Linked DNA regions of Homo sapiens: all the other regions are linked to region 2. The links are contacts of gene promoters, found by promoter capture Hi-C in blood cells and fetal thymus (Javierre and others, 2016). All regions are on one chromosome and are shown on one strand. The core of a region is centred on a gene start or on the middle of the fragment in contact, and the rest is flanking DNA. Distances in the headings are between cores, read along the strand shown. Region 1 holds the start of GSTK1 (glutathione S-transferase kappa 1). Region 2 holds the start of TRPV5 (transient receptor potential cation channel subfamily V member 5). Region 3 overlaps CASP2 (caspase 2). Region 4 overlaps LOC124901764 (a long non-coding RNA gene).

Region 1 (2,700 bases), core at 65-2,564, 330 kb before region 2:
CCTCCATCCTATCAATCCCTCAATCTCCGACTTCTGTGTTTTTCACTGGATACCCTGTCTACATCCCACTCTCTTCACCTTTTTCAAGCATCACAGACAAGAAATCCTTGGGGAAGTGGATGGGAATCTGGAGATGGTGTCTCAGGAGCTTTAAGTCATTTGCCATGTATAGTCCTTTGCGGGGAAGCAGACCTGGAGGCTTGTTTCCTGCCAGGAGAAGGTTGGGCACGCTAAGTGAGAAAAGACCTAAGGGTCCCAGGTTTGGGGACCTCGACGTGGGTTTTGGGCAGAGGGCAGCTTCCTTTTTTTTCTCTTGTTGTTTCGCTCTTGTTGCCCAGGCTGGAGTGCAATGGTGCGATCTCAGCTCACCGCAACCTCCGCCTCCTGGGTTCAAGCGATTCTCCCGCCTCAGCCTCCCGAGTAGCTGTGGTATACAGGCATGCACTACCACGCCCGGCTAATTTTGTATTTTTAGTAGAGACGGGGCAGAGGGCAGCTTTCTGGCTGCCAGTGCCAATATAAGGACCCGCTGGGGTCGGCTCTCTTGGGCCACTGAGATCACCCCTGCCCCGACCCTCCCTTCCTACCACTGTCTTTCATGATCCCTGTTATGAGGCTGGGCCGCAACTGCAGGTTGATGTTCCAGATATTCTGATACCGGCACAGGATCTGCGGGCAGAGGTCAAGAACGATTGCCAGTGTGCAAGATGGAAAAGTGAAAGAGCCGAGGGAAAGGGAAGGGAGGCGCTAAGTGCAGAGCAGGGGTTATGCGGACACCCTACATTGTTTGGTTTGAAATTGGCAAAACTCTCCTCACTACTAGAAATCTATTCCAGGATCTTCGCTCCTGTGGCCAGTTTTCCCCAAAACTGCCATCGTTGGGCTAAGAGGTGGCCGTGTTCTGCATTTCTCCCTGAATGTTTGGAGCCGCCCCTCTTTCCACCACCGTGGGAAACTGCAGTCGGGATATAAAGGCTCGGGTTGGAGCCAGCGACTCTATTCCGTTTAAAAGCACAAAGTGACCTTCAGCCCCGGAGCTCTCCCTGCTTGCCTTAACCCCTTGGGCGGCGCCAGGAGTTACACGAGACCTCTGTCCCGGAGCCCTGCGCTCACTCTTCCCTCCGCCCTCACTCCCCAGACACTGCCGAGGCGACCCCTCCCAGCGTCACCTCGAAGCCCAGCCAGGAGTAGGGGGACAGCACGTCATAGAAGAGCTCCACGGTGCGCGGCAGGGGCCCCATGCTGCAGGCTCCGGAAGAGCAGTGGCAGCAGGAGCTCCTTTTCCCGGAACCCGGCAGAGGCTGCCCAGCTTCTGGGCCTGCCTGGGACCGCCCACCGCCTTAGCGCGCAGCCTCAGAGAGAAACTGCCCTGGTAGAGGTCCACCTCCGGCGCAGCGGGGCAGGGCCAGCCTACGGCCCCCAGCCAGGGGCGGGGTGGGTAGGGACCCCTTGGGGAGCGCGCAGGTGTGGACAAGGGGCGCTGCAATCGCCTTTGCAAAAATTTTAACAGTGAGAAAATTACGAAGGTGAAACAGATCTGAACTCACCAACTCCATCGTGCCTTTAACCTCCAAACTGCCCTTGGTCATTCCTGAGCATGGGACGAGCTAATATAGGGAGAAATTTAGTTTATAGTTTAAATGATAATAGCCCTTCCCCAAACTAAACCAGTTTTATAAAACTAATAAAAGTCCACAAGTTTAGGATTATGAGAGGGGCCTGAATTCTGCTAAGATGTAGGCATTAACAATTACCAGACATTGTTCCAGAGGTCACAAGCTCTGCAACTTCCCCAATTATTCCTGTAAATAACCACTTTTGTAGAACCTAAGACTGGCCTTTGAAGATACCTTCTCAGACTTTTCCATTTCTAATGACAGGATGACTCCACCTGGACCAGTGACTCCTCTGTGGCCCGCATCCAAATGCAACTCGGTGCACTGAGGACGGTTTTCCACACCCCTGTGATTGCATCCCCAACCAATTAGCAGCACCCATTCTCTAGCCCCTTGCCCATCAAACTATCATTAAAAAACTCTAGCCGGCGGGCATGGTGGCTCACGCCTGTAATCCCAGCACTTTGGGAGGCTGAGGTGGGTGGATCACTTGAGGTCAGGAGTTCAAGACCACTCTGGCCCACATGGTGAAACCCTGTCTCTACTAAAAATGCAAAAATTAGCCGGGCATGGTGGCATGTGCCTGTAATCCCAGTTACTCGGGGGGCTGAGTCAGGAGAATTGCTTGAATCCGGGAGGCAGAGGTTGCAGTGAGCCGAGATCATGCCACTGCACTCCAGCCTGGGTGACATAGCAAGACTCCCTCTCAAAAGAAAAACAAAAACAAAAACAAAAAAACCCACAAAGTCCCCTAGCCTCTGCCTCCGAATTTTGGGAGGCTAATTTGAGTAATAATAAAACTCTGGTCTCCTGTTTAGCTGGCTCTATGTGTATTAAACTCTTTCTCTATTGCAATTCCCTTGTCTTGATAAATTAGCCCCATCTGGGTAATGGGCAAGATGAACCCATTGGGCTGGTGTCAGGGTGACTGTCCTGCTCTGCAGTGGAGTCTTGTGGGAAGGGGGTAGTTTGAGATGCCTGCAGTGCCTTTCACTTAGCTGTGCCCCTTGGGTGAGCCACTTGACCTCTCTGAACCTATTTCCTCATCCTGCATACACATGGGGAATATCTAATGATAACACCT
Region 2 (2,700 bases), core at 200-2,699:
AGTGGATGCCAGGAACCTTAGATAGCACCAAACCCTGTATATACTATCTTTTTTCCTACACGTACATACATACATACATACATACATACATACATACATACATACATACATATGATGAAGTTTAATTTATACATTAGGCACAGTGAAGAGTTTAGGCCGGGCATAGTGACTCACGCCTGTAATCCCAGCACTTCAGGAGGCCGAGGCAAGCAGATCACCTGAGGTCAGGAGTTCGAGACTAGCCTGGCCAACATGGTAAAACCCTGTCTCTACTAAAAATACAAAAATTAGCCAGGCGTGGTGGTGGGCACCTGTAATCCCAGCTACTAGGGAGGCTGCGGCAGGAGAATAACTTGAACCTGGAAGGTGGATGTTGCAGTGAGCCAAGATCACACCATTGCTCTCCAGCCTGGGCAACGAAAGTGAAACTCTGTCTCAAAAAAAAAAAAAAAAGAGTTTAACAACAATAAAATGAAAATTATAATAATATAAAGTTATGTGAATGTTCTCTTTCTCTCTGTCTCTCAAAATATGTTATAGTACTGTACTCACCTATTTTCCAACTGTGGCTGACCTTAGGTAACTGAACCATCAGAGAGTGAAACTGTGGATAAGGGAAACTACTTAATATATAAAATATAATATAAAATATATAAAATAGTGCAACATTACTTATTCCTCCTGGTGTTTCATTCCTGGAAAGAGTCCCAAACATGGAATCACGATTTATTTGTCGTCTACCTTTGCTCAGTTTCTGCTGTTCAACCTCCATAATAACTCGAGGCCCCTGGGGGCTCCTCTGACCTGCGTCCCCAGGTACCAGAGCCTGCTCGGCGACGCTCCAGGAAGCTGGCCGGTCACGGTCATGAGGACTTCTCACAGAGAGGGATTGGCCTGGGAAGTGGGGGTCAGAAACCCTCCTTTGAGGTACAGGGTTGAGGACAGAGATGACCACAAGACACATAAATGGGAAGCTCTGAGAAGCAGCCCGGGGGTCTCTTGAGCCCTCTTGTGGAAGGAGGATCGGCAGTGATTGAGTACTTGTGACACATGCTTTACAGATGCTCCCGTGAGACGGCATAGCCGTTACCCCAATTTCACAGGTTAGGAACTGAGGCTCAGAAAGCTCACCTAACTGTAAGGGATAAGAGTCAGGATTTGAACCAGGCTCTGCCTGACTCTTGAGCTGGAAGTCTTTATTTCCTCCTCTCCCTCATGCAACTAACTGTGCACCTTGTTTGTGGACCCACCTTCCATCCCTTTTCTTTTTCCAAATTCCTCTGCCCCACCTCTTAGCTTCTCGGGTCTCAGCCATCCCAGCCCACAGTTAGGAACCTTCCTTCCCCTCCTCCTTTTCTTCCCCAGGGTGGTTCTGTGGCTGTGGGGCTCAGCTCTGCAAAGAGCTCCTCCCCCTCCAGGAAAAGCACTTCTCCCCAGGCAGGGCGGTCAGTCCCCTCAGCGCACCTGCATGCACACACACCACCTCACAACCACACACTGCATGCACACACATACACCACAGCCACACACTGTGCATACACGCACACCCCACAACCCACATACTGCATGCACACACACACACCTACAAGCTGCATGCTGCATACACAAGTCATACAGGAGATAAACTCAGAGTCCCAGCCCCAAATAGACCCCATCTCTTGCTCAGTTGCTGTCATCCTAGACCTGTTTCTTTCGCCACATTTCTATAATCTGCCAGTGTCTGCAAGGAGAAGACATGGGGGGTTTTCTACCTAAGGCAGAAGGGCCCGGGAGCCAACTCCAGAAACTTCTGCCCTCCTTTCTGGTCAGAGAACAAGACTGGGACCAGCACCTGGACAAGCTTCATATGCTGCAGCAGAAGAGGTAGGCTTCCTAGAACGATCCGTGGCCCTACCGCCGTGATCCTCAGACCCTCTGACCCACCTGGGCCTGCTTTCCGAATACAGCACCCTAGAAGTGTATTGTCAGTGCCAGTCACTCAGACATACCCTTTCCTTCCAGCCCACCTAATTACAGAATCCCAGCTGGCCCCTTTTAGTGGCGGTGGAGGATGTGGCTTTGGGCCACACAGGAAAATCTTGAGGGTAGACCTAAGGACAGAGGCAGAATGACAGCCAAGGGGGAGTGAAAGGACCAAAAAGGACCAGAGGGAAGAAGCCAGGTTGTGTGGGATGGGGAGGGAAGGCAGAAGCAGGCTGCTGAAGAAGGGATGCACTCCTGTGGGTGGTGGAAGCACGATAAGGAAACGCCATTCATTTGAATGAAAGTGGACTGTGTGGGAAAGGGGAGGAGCGCTTTGTTTGGTGTAACACTGGGTGCTGACCAGTGGAGGAGGGCAGCTCAGGTGACACTGGAGGGCTCTGAGTTCAGTCCATCTGCCTTTTATTGAGTCTACTGTGTGCAGAGGGGTGTTAGATCCCAATGACATAAAGATTGAATGAGACTTGTGCCTGCTCCTGGAGAGCTCTTAGTTCGGGCAGGGCTAGCACACCTGCAGGTAAATCATTTCATGGCTTAGCCCTGAGGTCCAGTCCCAGGAAGAGCAGCTGGGGCAGGGACGAATCCTGTGGGCTGCTTCTTCCTCCAAGTGTTTTGGGGCTTGCCTCCCACCCAACAGCTGCCTGAGGGGTGAGGTTGTTGAGCAGACATTAGCAGTCACAAAGGGCTCCCCTGTACTCCAGAAGATTCCTGTGCTTTGTT
Region 3 (2,700 bases), core at 181-2,680, 370 kb before region 2:
CAATAAGGTACAAATGCAAGGCAATGTTGGCTGACAGGCTGCGGTGCCTTGAGCCCAAACGAGCCAAGAGTGTCCTTCCACTGGGTGGCGCTGCAGTACTGAAGGGAACGCACAGGCCGCTTCTGGACACTGCAGCAAGGTGCGTCTCTAGTCATGTTTGCTTCTTCAGAGCCAAAAGATAATGTCTACATTAAATTTGGACACCTTCCAAACTCTCACTCTAGGACAAAAAGGGCGGAGGATATGAATGAAATAAAAGATAGGAGATGGTCTCTCAGACATCTTAACTAATGTAATAAAAGCAATCACTAAAGTGCCATCTACAAAAGCTGGAACTGAACACAAATATGGGGAATTTATATGCCCTCTCCCCATAACCACACTGTGTTTACAACTTCACTTGTCAGGCTCTTCAACTGCAGCTGAAACATTCCTGGCAATAGGTCCAACCAAGGCTGGCTCTACAGGCAAAGGGCTTCACAGAAAAGGAGCTGGCCTGGAGTCCCACACTCAAAGGCAGAGATGATGGGCACAGGAAACAAGTCTGGGAGATTCCCACATCCCTGAGGGGGCAGAACAGAAACCGTGCATCCTGAAGATCAAAGGCTCTATCACACCTCCTGTGGTCCAGTGGCTTCCACTTGGCGTGGATGATGGGGAGGTGACATCATGTGGGAGGGTGTCCTGGGAACAGGTAGAGGTGGCGGCACAGAGTGCTGCAGTATTCAGACATCTCCTTGCACCGGTGGAATTCTGTGCCAGGAGCATAACCTTCCCGATCCTTGATAAGTGCGTTCACCTGGAGGGGCAGAACCAATAGGCCCAAGTCTGAGAATCTCGGGCTTCAGGAGAGCAGCAAACGGGAAGGGGAGACGGACTATGAAAGAGCATTCAAGAGAGGAGGAAAGTAGAGCACTGTGGAGACACACAGGGGTCACGGAGCCCGCTGGCTCACCTTAACCAGCATGTCGGCCACGTGCATATCACAAGCCCGCTCAGAAAACACTTGAGCAAGAGCCTCGATGTACCAGGAACCTCGTTTGGTGTTCCGCATGGCGGCAGTCCCTGCAACCAAAAGGGCATTAATCACAGTGTGAATGCCATCACACAGCTGCACTTCCCAAACTAGACTCGGCCATGACACCTGCACCCTCCCTAGTCAGAGAACCCAGCATGAAGAATCTAAGTCTAGGAGGGTACTCTTTTGGATTATTGGCATACTTTGGAGATACCGTAGGTCTGTTTCCAGACCAGCTTAAGAAAGTGAATATGGCAATAAAGCAAGTCATACAAATTTTCAGGTCTCCCAGTGTATACGGAAGTTATGGTTACTATCCTACAGTCTATTAAGTGTGCAACAACATTATGTCTAAAACATGCATATGCTGTAATTAAAACATACTTTATTGCTGAAAAATGCTAACAGAGGCATGCCAATAGAAAAATGGTGCTGACAGATGCTCAAAGGATTGCCACAAACCTTCAATTTGTAAAAAGCAGCTGAGCATCCCAAATCCAAAAAATCTGAAATGCTTCAAAATCTGAAACTTTCCAAGTGCCAATATGATGCTCAAAGAAGGTGCTCATGGGAGTGTTTTAAATTTAGAATATTTGGATACGGGATACTCAACTAGTAAGTATAACGCAAATATTCCAAAATCCAAAAAAACAAAAAAATCCAAAATCTGAAACACTTCTGGTTCCAACACTTCAGATAAGGGATACTCAACCTGTACCTGCAAAGCACAATAAAGCAAAGTGCAACAAAATGAGGTATGACTCAACTCTTTTGGAACTCAAAGTACCTTTGAGGCAGGCATAGCCGCATATCATGTCTGAGCGCGTGGGCAGTCTCATCTTCGGCAACTTTTCTTTACCGGCATCACTCTCCTCGCACCCAGGGGATCCTGCGTGGTTCTTTCCATCTTGTTGGTCAACCCCACGATCAGTCTCATCTGTAACAAAGGCAGACAGAATGGACAATGATGTTACTTCTTCCTATCTCTCTTGGGCCTGTCACAGGCAAGCCCACGTTCCCTACAACCTTGAAGGGGAAGAGCCATTTCCAGCTGTTGCCTCCAACCTATGGCTGATAAACTAAAAAAAAAAAAAAAAAATTATTACTCTCTCAGCATGCATCTGTTACTCAGGGGATGCCTCATACACACCGGGCACCACGCTCAAGCACATGCACATCTATGCGGTTGGAGCAGTTCCCATTCTGTGTAAGACAGGGAAAATGCCAAATCAAATACTCCTTGTAAATGGAACTGAAAATCATCTAAGTCCACAACTCACTTGTTCAATTAACAATATGCCTGGGAGTCACAGTGCTTTTTATTGCAATACATAATAAAATATTGATATATTTAATTACATAAACAAGAAAAAACAAGGTAATAAATAACAAATACGGTTACCATATGTATGCTATATAAAAATCACAACCTCGAACTATGTATCAAAAAATAATAAAACTAAGTATGATCAGTTGTTTCCAAGGTGGTTTTGATATCTTCGAAGCACTATGTTTATTAATTTCATAAGATAAATTATAGCAAGCATCCAAGATTTAAGAAAAAAAATTTTTAATTTATTTTTTAAAATAACTTTTTAAATCTTTTTTTTTCTTTTTTTAATAGAGATGGGGTCTTGCTACGTTGACCAGGCTTGTCTTGAACTCCTGGCTTCAAGTGATCC
Region 4 (2,700 bases), core at 191-2,690, 270 kb before region 2:
ATGGGGTTTCACCATGTTGGCCAGGCTGGTCTCGAACTCCTGACCTCGTGATCCACCTGCTTCAGCCTCCAAAAGTGCTGGGATTACAGGCTTGAGCCACCATGCCCCGCCTCTTTGTTCTTAATTCTGTTTTCATTTGTTCTCTAGCCAAGACCCCAAGTCTATAATGATCAAGAGGGTTGTTTTATTTTTGACAAGTGGAAACCCACATGTTTCTGAAAAGTGGAGTGGTGGTGGTGGTGGTGGTGGTAGCATAATCTGGAAGACCCCTAAAGAAGGCAGTGCTACCTGCCATATTTGACTTGGGGGTCAGAGCGAGAGTCTGAGTTGGAGAGTTGGGAAGCTAGAAAAATGAAGGACTAAAGTAAGAGATATTCCTTATTTCTCCTTTTCCTTTTCCACATATCTTGAGAAAGAGAAAGGTTTTTAGTTCAGCAGAAAATGGGAGATGCTGGGGCAGAGATAAAAATGCTCCCCAAACATGGCAGGGACTTCCTTGTATTTCTCGTTCTCCTTGTAGTTAGGTTGAGCTAAAGGAGATGCTACTAATGAAATTTGAAATCTTAGGGTCAGACATGTGGGAATGCACTGCCTACCCTTCCATCTTGGCAGTGACACGGGCTCATTCCCCCCAGTTTCCAGAGCTGTGTCCTTTTCATTCCTCTTTCCAAATCCACCTCCACTCAAGCTTTCAATCTGTGCCTGGGCTCTGGTTTGAATGAGCCACTGATATATTTGCAGCCACCGGGGATCTGGAGTGCAGATGCAAATGGCAGTGTTCCCTGGTAAGTGTTGGTGACAATTGGATCTTTCTCTGATTTGCATTCCCAAGGCCTGCAGGTTTTCAGAAAATCACATCTTATAGGCAGTTCTGGGGAGGGGGGAGGTTTATTTTCAATGTCAGCTACAAATGCCGGCCCATGATAATTCTTAGAATGAAAGACCTCTCATTTGCAAAGGAGAGGATAGTTAGAGCCAGAACAATTCACTTAGCAAAAATTTGGGCCCAAAAATATATATATAGGAGAAGGGATTGTTGGTGGGTAGAGAGGCCTGGAGATCAAGAGCAAGAGATGAGATAAACACAAGTTTGGAAGCCATTGGCTTGTGAGGGGACCTGAGCACTTAGAATAGAGGAGACCCCTCAGGGAGAGCTTGTATGGAGAGAGAGAAAGGTGCATCCTGACCCCATCCTGGGCATTTCTCTTTGAAACTCAGCCTTGTTATAATTCATTTCTAATTCTGATATCAGCAGTGAGGGTTCATCTAATCTATTCTCATCACTTCTTGAGCCTCTCAGCTCTCACTGGTCCTGGCTCTTGCCTGGAGATGATTTTACTCAAAATTCTAGTCCAGGATTTAGAATTGGTCTAAGTACAGATGTGCATCAGGAGGCTATTTCAAAATCCCAGATGAGCTCATACATAAAGTAAGGATTAATTTTTTATTTTGTGAACCAATTGTGTAAAAAAAAAAAAAAACAACAATGCACATTAGGAAAGTAATTCATTTAATTTCCATGACCCAGCCCCTCCTGCCTACAAGCCCCCCTCCCCCATCCCATGCAATCCACCTCATAGGTAAAAACATATTCTGGGCAAACTGACTCATTTCATGTCACATTTATCCCACTCAAGTTTGTCCCTCCTGCTTTGAGCCTGGATTCCACGTAAAGGTGGAAGGTGATTTGGGCTGGTCTCCAGGCAGTCACCACCTGCAACCTATTTTCTTCTCATCACGACACCTACGTTCAGTGTCACCTTTTCTTCTCCCTTGGGCTGCCCCTTTCTTGCTCACTCCCATGTTCCAATGCCAGCAGCTCTGTCTTTGTGCTCAGCCATGCTTGTTGTTCAGCAGCATTCCTCATTAGAATCCCATTATTTGATGGTCAGAGTAGGGTCTCCATGGTGATACAGGCACAAGTGTAGCCAGTATTCTGCCACCGCATCTTACCTACTTGGCAGGCAAGCTAGAGTTGGCCTAAATTCTGCTTTTATCATTTATGTGTTTGTTCTTATGCTTTTAGGAAAAAAAAATCCTGAAATAATGGTGAAGGACAGCAAGTATTTGCCTAGAGTGCATGCTAAGAAGTCTCCATAGATGTTTTTCTTTAAGTATCCTGACCGCTTAACATATTGATGAAGACCTCTTATTTCCAGGTCAACAATCAGCTGTTACCAACTTAAGCTTTCTAAACATTTTCTGTGAAACAAATTTTTGCCAGTAAGAAAAGGAAATTGGGAGCTGCCACTGCTTAATTAATTTGAAGCTTTGATAAGCTTTGCCAGAGAGTCGCATAATAGAATTAGCAAGTTTCTTAACAGGTGAGAAAGCACATGAGCATAAACAAAAATAGGATAAGACTATCATCAATGGGGTTTATGCACCAGCTTAAAAAGCCAGTTTGGGGGACTTTTATGACTCTGAATTAAGATTTGTGCAATATAAGATTGTCCAGGATAAAATATTTTGGGCACCAAATATTAAGCTTCTGAAATAGACCCAGAGGTTCTTGTATGATAAAAAAAAAGTATGTATAAGGTTTTGATTTGATTTTTTAAATAATGTGTTCACTACTTCCCTTTCTTCTGAGACTCCATAGAGAAAAAAATATCATAACACTAAAGAGAAGGGAATGAGGATGGCCAAGAGCAGACTGGAGATTTCATCCTATTTCTTGGTTGTGGACAATCAGAAAAA

The links. The method cuts DNA at HindIII sites, captures the fragments that hold promoters and counts their contacts. A CHiCAGO score of 5 or more calls a contact.
Region 1: a contact is called between the fragment with the promoter of GSTK1 here and the fragment with the promoter of TRPV5 in region 2, in 4 of 17 cell types (neutrophils, erythroblasts, monocytes and 1 more). The highest score is 9.1, in neutrophils.
Region 3: a contact is called between a fragment that was not itself captured here and the fragment with the promoter of TRPV5 in region 2, in 1 of 17 cell types (neutrophils). The highest score is 7.4, in neutrophils.
Region 4: a fragment that was not itself captured here is called in contact with the fragment with the promoter of TRPV5 in region 2 in 8 of 17 cell types (neutrophils, M0 macrophages, naive B cells and 5 more); the score reaches 8.8 in neutrophils.

Annotation. Positions count from the first base shown.
Region 1 is chr7:143,262,055-143,264,754 of GRCh38, reverse strand. It overlaps GSTK1 (glutathione S-transferase kappa 1), which reads right to left and starts at 1,314. Exons shown (of 8, transcript NM_015917.3): 1 at 1,170-1,314; 2 at 588-669; 3 at 79-207. The coding sequence starts at 1,241. All of the region lies in intron 2 of TMEM139-AS1 (TMEM139 antisense RNA 1), which reads left to right. LOC105375546 (a long non-coding RNA gene) reads right to left here. Exons shown (of 3, transcript XR_007060569.1): 3 at 1,548-1,607. RefSeq lists enhancers at 1,067-1,286, 1,105-1,399 and a silencer at 1,427-1,496. The HindIII fragment of the contact is 19,965 bases long and covers 1-2,700 here.
Region 2 is chr7:142,932,495-142,935,194 of GRCh38, reverse strand. It overlaps TRPV5 (transient receptor potential cation channel subfamily V member 5), which reads left to right and starts at 1,449. Exons shown (of 15, transcript NM_019841.7): 1 at 1,449-1,863. The coding sequence starts at 1,736. The HindIII fragment of the contact is 14,618 bases long and covers 1-1,842 here.
Region 3 is chr7:143,303,039-143,305,738 of GRCh38, reverse strand. CASP2 (caspase 2) reads right to left here. Exons shown (of 11, transcript NM_032982.4): 9 at 1,806-1,955; 10 at 956-1,065; 11 at 1-799. The coding sequence ends at 668. Among named protein-coding and RNA genes, the nearest start is that of CLCN1, 12 kb to the left of the region's middle. The HindIII fragment of the contact is 3,319 bases long and covers 1-2,700 here.
Region 4 is chr7:143,202,800-143,205,499 of GRCh38, reverse strand. It overlaps LOC124901764 (a long non-coding RNA gene), which reads left to right. Exons shown (of 2, transcript XR_007060567.1): 1 at 1-2,324. Among named protein-coding and RNA genes, the nearest start is that of TAS2R40, 18 kb to the left of the region's middle. The HindIII fragment of the contact is 1,499 bases long and covers 691-2,189 here.